Linked DNA regions of Homo sapiens: region 2 is linked to region 1. The links are contacts of gene promoters, found by promoter capture Hi-C in blood cells and fetal thymus (Javierre and others, 2016). All regions are on one chromosome and are shown on one strand. The core of a region is centred on a gene start or on the middle of the fragment in contact, and the rest is flanking DNA. Distances in the headings are between cores, read along the strand shown.

Region 1 (4,081 bases), core at 895-3,394:
CCCATCATTAACAATTCTTTATATTGAACTTCTCTTGTTAAATTATATGCTCAAAAAATTACTATATGATTTATTTCTCTTTGTTGGACTCTGAAACACGTTGACTGACAGCTGTGTGGATGAGCTGAAGAGAGGATGGTGAAGCTTCAGGCAGGGAGCCAGGTTAGGAGAATATGGCAGCACTTTTGACAACTCCCAGGAGCTTCACTGCCTTGAAAAGTAGTTGCAATAGGGAGTGATATAAGAGACAAGTATTTAGGAGATAGGATCTACAGGATTTGGTAACTACTGAAGGAGGAGGAGGAGGAAGAAAAGAGGAGGTGGAGGAGGAGGAAGAAGAGAAGGTGGAGAAGGAGGAAGAGGTGAAGGACAGAAAAGTCTAGAGTGACTATCAGTTTTCAAGCTTGGATGACTGGGTGCACAGTGGTGGTACCCTTGTAGAAATAGAAAACACTAAAGGAGGGTCAGGTCAAATTATCCCCCCATGTTCCCATTTACTTTCAGGAGTTCCATGCACTTTTGAATCACAGAGTTGAAATCATAGACTCTCTGAGTTGAAGAGGCACCAAAGCCCAGCTTTCCTGCCTTTGGGCAATAAGGGTCATTTGTTCACATCAAAGAAGTGGGAGAAAGGTCCATTCTATCTTAACATTCCTCAATTCTAACATTTTGTAAAGTTATTTTCCATTTTTAAATCTCTTGATAGTGTAGGTCTTCTTCAATTATACATTCCAGAGCTTATCCATAACCCCAACTCTTTCAATTCAATGCATTTCCTCCTAAGTGAAACCTACATGCCTCTCAATGTAAAATGGAGGCCAACATATACCTGCCAAGTGCTGAAGAATGTAGGTCTTAAAATAGACTATAGCCTTGTTTCAGGGATCTCTCACTTGGTTTTATTGGTATGGGCTAAACAGGGCTTCCGTTTCATAAATGAAAGTCTCCAGTAACATGAATGAAAGGCTCCAGGGCAGAATCTCAGAGGGTTTCTATGAGTATCACTTGGAACCAAGCACAGGCAACTGCACATCCCTGTTTGGGTTTGGAATTGGAGATGGTGGGTTTGGGATGTGGTTACTCTTGTTTGGAATACATTCTCCTCCTCTTAACAGGTTGATTCTTCCTTTGGAGGTCTGCTTAACCTTCCCTGATTACCCTGTCAGTTCCATTGTACATACCCTTCCAGAGCATCACTTACCTATCCTTAGTGTGATTCTTTGAGTAACATGTGTCTCCCCCAGCAAACTCCACGGCAGGACTGGTCAGTTTTTGCTCACCACACCATCCCAGTGCCTAGCCCAGTGCCTGGAACTTAGTGTTCAATAGGTACTAGTAAAAATGAATGCGTGATAGCAGTCTATGAAGTGCTAGCTATAAAATGAACACGTGATAGGAGTCTATGAAGTGCTAGGTATAAAATAATGCGTGATAGGAGTCTATGAAGTGCTAGGTATAAAATAATATGTGATAGGAGTCTATGAAGTGCCAGGTATAAAATAATGCCTGACAGGAGTCTATGAAGTGCTAGGTATAAAATAATGTGTGATAGGAGTCTATGAAGTGCTAGGTATGCCCATGACATCCACATGACAATTCACCCAGAGGTATTTTTATATCCCTGTCGCTGATGAAAAAGCAGAGGTGTGGCTCCTCGGTGGAGGGCTCTGATTCCAAACTCTTGAGCCTCCCAACCACTGTCCTCCGGGTAAGAAACCGTATAATAGTATTCTGGGTACAAAATACGCACACAAATTGGCCAGAAAGCCATAATCCCCCACAGTCACATTCTCTTGAAGATCCCCTTGCCTTCCCCTTGCCCTGTGAACAAGGAGAGGCTCAGAATCCAGGGGGCGTCCGGCAGGGCTCCTCCCTCAGACCAGCGCAGCCCTCGGGGCGCTCAGAGCCCTGCCCTCCCTCCACTTCCCCTCGGGGTGGCTACCTCAGGCTCGCTCCCAAACCGGCTGTCTGGCTTCAGGCGACACCTGGCGCCTGGCCTCAGGCGAGAGGTGTGGGGAGAGACCGAGTGCCTCCCACCCTTCTTAAGAAGGAGAGCAGTAGAACCTCGGCGGGGAGGGCAGCAGCGGCCGGGGGTGACAGCAGCGGCGGGGCACGACCGCCGTTAGCGTTAGACGTTAGCGCTCCGCCTTCGCCTGGCAAACCCTGCGCGGGCTCCGCTGCCAGGTCACCAGGGGTAGCGCCGGGCGCGACGTCACAGAGCCGCCCCGCCTCTCCTGCAGCGGCGGGTTCCCAGGGTCCCGCTAGGGCGCTGCTAGGGGACGCTGAAAGCTGTTTTGGGCTTTGCTGGTGGTGGAAGGACCAGACGGCCTGGAGGGTTAAGGACTGGGCTGGGGACGTTAGGAAACCCGGGCTGGGGGCGTTGGGGGTGGGGCGGAATGTGTAGCCATTGACGGTGCGCTTTTGTAGGTGAGAGGGCAGAAGTGGAGCTTGATCTTTCGGCTTGTGGAAAGTGGACAGGTGAGAATTCCTCAGGAATCATAGTAACAACACTTCTTACAATGAGTTTTTGGTGCCAGGAATTGTTCTAAGTGCATTACACACATGAACTCATTTCATCCTTACTGTCACCCCATGAGGCAAGTACTATTGTTATCCCCATTTTTACAGATGAGGGAACTGAGCACAGAGAGGTTAAACTTGTCCAAGATGACAGTCAGCAAGTGACAGAGTCAGGATCTGAATCTGGGTTGCGTGGTCCCAGATTCCTCACTCTTGACCTTATAATGCTAAGAAAGGGGCATGGAGTGGATAGGAACAGAGCCTGAGATGCCTGGGGACAACAGGGAAAGATAGAAAATATTTATAGGGTAGAATGTGGTCACTGTGCCAGGGCACTTTTACAAACATGATGACATCAAAGTTTCACAGTAAACTCTGAAGGTAGGTATTACCTTCGCTTTGGAAATAAAAAACAGGCTCAAGGCTTCGAGTAATTTTGCCTGTGATCGAACAGCTGGCAGTAGGGCTCAGGGCCCAACTTTACTCCAGGTCTTCCGGTTTCAAGACTGTGTGTGTGTGTGTGTGTGTGTGTGTGTGTGTGTGTGTGTGTGTGTGTGTGTTTTGAGACAGGGTCTTGCTCTGTTGCCCAGGCTGGAGTGCAATGGGGTAATCATGACTCACTGCAGCCTCAATCTCCTAGGTCTAAGCAATCCTCCCACCTCAGCCTCCCAAGTAGCTGAGACTGCAGGTGCTTGCCACGATGACAGGCTAATTTTTATATTTTTATAAACGGGGTTTTGCCATGTTGCCCAGGCTGGTCTTGAATCCCTGGGCTCAAGTGATCCACCTGCCTTGGTCTCCCAAAGTATTGGGATTACAGGTTTGAGCTACCGCACCTGGTCTCAAGACTGTTCGTTTTAAGCACCCAAGGAGGCAAGAAAAGCCCCATCTTTCTCTGCTACATCCCGTGTCACTTCACACCTATTTTAAAGGGGCCCATTGCATCATCTAATCCTTCATTCCATTTATACAACAGTGTGTATTAGTCTAAATAGATTAGTTCACCCAGGCCCTTCAAAGCTTTCTCTGTTTGTGAGATGAAAGCCTTTGTCTCTCCCTAAAGCAATTTTAAGCATCAGTGAACAAGTGGGGGAACTAGATTTTTGGGTTACGCATGCAGAAAGCTTTTCACAGCCTGTTGTCATCCATTTGTAAAGAGGCCACTCTGCTGGCATTTGTCAAAATCCTGTAGGTCCTTGCACACCTGGAGAATCCTGGATGGTCTGGGGATGGCCACTGCCCACAGGGCAAGATCTGGGGATGAAAGAAACCTAGTCACTAGCTATCACCTGCCTTTCTGAGGCCTCTGTGGAGGGGCTGCCAGGTGTTGGTATAGGCACTTGACAAACAGGGTGTGCCTTAGGTTGGGAGGGGGAGGCTGGAGGCTTGAGGGCTGCAGGTGCATCTTCCAGGATAACAAGAATGCTCTGGCCACTGGGGTCTGTTCTGTTGTATGCACATGGGATAAAGGTGTGCCAATCTCTTCCTGCTTTCATGCAGAGTAAATAATGCTGACAGGAGTGAATAATAATGATCTTTGTGCAGAAGAAGGGGTTTTTCA
Region 2 (4,081 bases), core at 922-3,421, 2.0 Mb after region 1:
GTCAAGGTCTGCTTTGGGGAAAAGGGTAAATGGAGCTACCTGGGAATGTTACTGATCAGGCCTGGGTCTTTTATCTCACAGTCACATTAGCCTTCCCACCTAATTCCATTTTTAGGGTTTAAGCTTTTTCTATTTTTATTTTTTATTTTATTTATTTATTTTTTTGAGATGGAGTCTTGCTCTGTTGCCCAGGCTGGAGTGCAGTGGTGCCATCTTGGCTCACTGCAAGCTCCGCCTCCCGGGTTCACGCCATTCTCCTGCCTCAGCCTCCTGAGTAGCTGGGACTACAGGTGCCTGCCACCATGCCCGGCTATTTTTTTGTATTTTTAGTAGAGACGGGGTTTCACCGTGTTATCCAGGATGCTCTCGATCTCCTGACCTCGTGATCCACCCGCCTCGGCCTCCCAAAGTGCTGGGATTACAGGCGTGAGCCACTGCACCCAGCCGGGTTTAAGCTTTTTAATTCTTTTCCAACACAATCCCTGTCTGGCCATGTGTTGTTACTATCTTGTTATTTCAAGTTTCTCTCCAGCTGGGTAAATCTTCATTCTGTGTCCTAGCCCTGGGCTTTTCTCTTTGGTTTCCTCTCATCTGCCCGGGAGGCCAGCTTACCCTCCCACCCCTCTATTCACATCTCACTCAACTCTTCCCACTTCTATACTTTTCACCACTTTCATACTTTCTACTTCCTCCCTTCCTTCCACTGCTCTTGGAATGATGGCTTTTGAATTTTTTGCCTTCACCAAAACTGGATGACTTCTCCCTCTGCTGAAGGAGGGCGGGGGGCTGGGGGAAGTCGTGAAAGCCCCAAAATGCCATCTTTCGTCTCATTTTCTATTTCTAGCACATATTCTGTTTATAATTCTGCCTCCCTCATAGCAGATTGACACAGCACTCTGCTTAGTTCCCAGAATAAATGCAATTCAAGAATGAGAGGCAAATCCAGGCTCCCAGGATTCTTCTGCAGTCAGGCATTTGTTAGGGTTTTTTCTGCTAGCATTTGAGGAGTGTCTCTGCTGGTAGCCCTGCTTCTCTGAACCCATCTTCTACTGTCCTGAAAATGCCTTCCATACAGGATTTTCTTCATGGTAGATTTCCTTTCCTGATCATGTCTGGACTAAGCTTATATCAAAGGCAGTTTTTATTCCCCACACATACATTGACTGTGCCACAAAAGATATTTAAATATTTGTTGGATAAACAAATGAATACTAGCATATTAAATGATAAGTCATAACCTGAGTTTGTGGGAAGCCAATTTGGAATTATAGTTAATCCACAAAATAAAAAATACATGTAAAAATTTACATTTTCAAATTAAAAACCAATTTTATATGACATTCAATATCTCTGATGTCCTCATCACCAAATCATAAAACCTGACGGAAGGAGCAACATTTGCAGAGTAACTTCCACTTTAGGAATTGTGCTTTGCTTAAATAATTTTATTTATTCTACAACTTGTGAAATAGGTATTATTATCCCCCACTTTATAGGCAACAAAACTGAGACTCATGCAAGTTGTGTAGCTTAGCCTAGGTAACAGAAGAAGTAAGTGGCAAAAAATGAATTAGACCCAAGTTTATCTGACTTCAAAGCTCACTTTAAAAACCAAAAGAGGACGTGGGATCTTTGAACACGGCATCTGATGTAGCACATGCTGATGACTTCTGGTGCAGACTGTGTTCCCCTTGACTATTTCTTTCCTGCTTAGCACATAGTAGATGTTCAAACAAATAGTTGTTGAATTAAATTATTGAATGTACCATTTAGACTCAAAGTTCCTTAATCTGGTAGTATGCTAATATTCAGGGCTTGATATAGACACTTTAGAAGCAACCCAGCATCAAGTTTTGGAAGGTTATCCTGTGGAGATGCACAGGCCAATGTTCTCTGTCTTGTCTTCATCAGGGAAAACAGACATGGGATGATGACTTTACTAGGCAAGATGTAGGTATGAGCTAAGGGAAACATGGTAAAACACTGGATCAAGCTGCTGAGGAAGACAAAATATTTTGTCTGCAGATGCCCGTCACTCTCGGATAAGCCAGGCTTGAGTGGCTGCAGAGGCACCAGGAGCTGTTCTTCTGCATTTGTGGCAATAGTAAGAAAAAGTCTCCTAGCAGAAACTGACCTTGTTCTATAGCATCCTCTCCATGGTAATGTGGAGTTGTTAGTTCCCTTCATTGCTCTCTGATGCATAGCTTTAATTGTATCTTTGCTTTTATGTAGAGAATAGATTCATATTCCCCAGAGGATGGCTGGGAAAACCCACTGCTAGCCTCGAATACAAATAGGAGTCTGCAGAAGCTGCTGCTTCATGGGTGGGCACAGGGAAGAGGAGATGAAAGAGGACAACAACCTCCAAAGGTCTGAGGTTCAGGCATGGAGGCATCACAGTTCCTCTTGCCCTCTTCTAAGGAGTGAAAACAGGAGGAATTTTATTCAAAGGAAAATGAGAAAATTGCCTTCTGGGGGATGTTATGTGGTGCTGGAAAACTACCATCTCCCCAAAAAGCTGTTCCTCACCCATACAGGAGCTCCCATGGCTGAGGGACAGCTAATACCACTGTTGATATAATTATCTATTACCTTCCTCAATTTTTTATGCATGTTTCTCCATAATTGAGATCATACTGTATAAACATTTTGCAATCTGCCTTTTCCAGTTAACATTGTAGCTTGTAAGCATTTGAGGGGAGGATATTATAAAATCCAGCCATTTTACAGTTGAGGTGCCATCAGGCAGAAATAGCAGCAATGACAGGAACTCCTGGGCTGGCTCCCGGGAAGTCAAATAGTCCTATCCCACCCATGGTATGGTGCACCCATTTATACAACCTCATGAGGCAGTTGGCAGTAGTTGGCTCTGGGAGGAAGGATCAAGGGAGTTGTTGTTTTTTAAAAATCTCTCAATTTCTTATATTTTTCAAAATTTCATAATAAACCAGTGTCACTTTCACAGTCAGAAAAAAAATATTTTAAAGATGTTTCCTTCCTGCTGCCAAGAAAGCAGCAAGGCATTAGAATCTGAATCAAGGCAGAAGAGCAAGCTACCCAGGCTCATCTCACCATGCTTGAGGCTCCCCATCTATGGAATGGGGACAGTCACTCTGGACCTCCTAGAGTAGAGACTGTAACACTATCTGTCACATATGGAGAAGGTGATGTCACTCTAGGACAAGGTGAAGAGATGAGCAGCCCATGTTTGGGAGGTGCCCAAGCTTTGTGGTCCATAGCTGCCAACCCCTCCAAAGCCCCCCAAAGCCTCTCAGAGGAAGAACAGGAATTTGCCTTATTTATGATTATAACCTCCCAACTCAGCCATCATTCAGAACATATTGGAACCTTGGTATCTTCAGACTCTGAGAAAGGAGTTAAGCTACATTCTTTTCCCATTGCTTGCAAACAGGGCCAACTCATTCATTAGGCACAGGAGACACAGTAGCTAGGGACCAAAATACTGTTAGGGGTACACAAGATGTTTTAACATATTATATTCATGTGTTTGTCATTATTCCAAAACAGTCATAAAATATGATTTTTCATTTTTTTAATGGAGGAAAAGGTCCAAGAAGGCAAAAGCGCCTACTGCCCACAAAAATCACAACATGGCCCTGGTCACTTAGCCTATATTTCAGCTTCGTATTTTCTACGCCCTTCCATGAAATCATCAAGGTGGATTATGAACCAAAATGTCTACTATTCCTCTCTAATCATCTTCTTCATCATTCTGGTAAAGAGGAAACAGACTTTGGGTGTAGATTTTTGGCATGAAAATAACCAGAGCCATGAGATAAAACAGAGACCCTCACAGTAGAATTAGGCAGATGGAGACATATTTGGCAGAGAGCAGAAGAAACAACTTTTAAAAAAATTATTATTATACTTTAGGTTCTAGGGTACATGTGCAGAATGTGCAGGTTTGTCACATAGGTATACATGTGCCATGGTGATTTGCTGCACCCATCGACCTGTCATCTACATTAGGTATTTCTCCGAATGCTATCCCTCCCCTAGCCCCCCACCCCACAATAGGCCCCGGTGTGTGATGTTCCCCTCCCTGTGTCCATTCTCATTG

The links. Contacts are between HindIII fragments. The CHiCAGO score rates a contact against its expected background, and 5 or more counts as called.
Region 2: a contact is called between a fragment that was not itself captured here and the fragment with the promoter of ROPN1 in region 1, in 5 of 17 cell types (fetal thymus, endothelial precursors, neutrophils and 2 more). The highest score is 14.8, in fetal thymus.

What each region holds. Positions count from the first base shown.
Region 1 is chr3:123,989,980-123,994,060 of GRCh38, forward strand. ROPN1 (rhophilin associated tail protein 1) reads right to left here and starts at 2,145. Exons shown (of 6, transcript NM_001317774.2): 1 at 1,943-2,145. RefSeq lists an enhancer at 1,917-2,433. The HindIII fragment of the contact is 3,137 bases long and covers 402-3,538 here.
Region 2 is chr3:125,953,023-125,957,103 of GRCh38, forward strand. It overlaps the pseudogene ALG1L1P. Among named protein-coding and RNA genes, the nearest start is that of ROPN1B, 14 kb to the right of the region's middle. The HindIII fragment of the contact is 2,102 bases long and covers 1,121-3,222 here.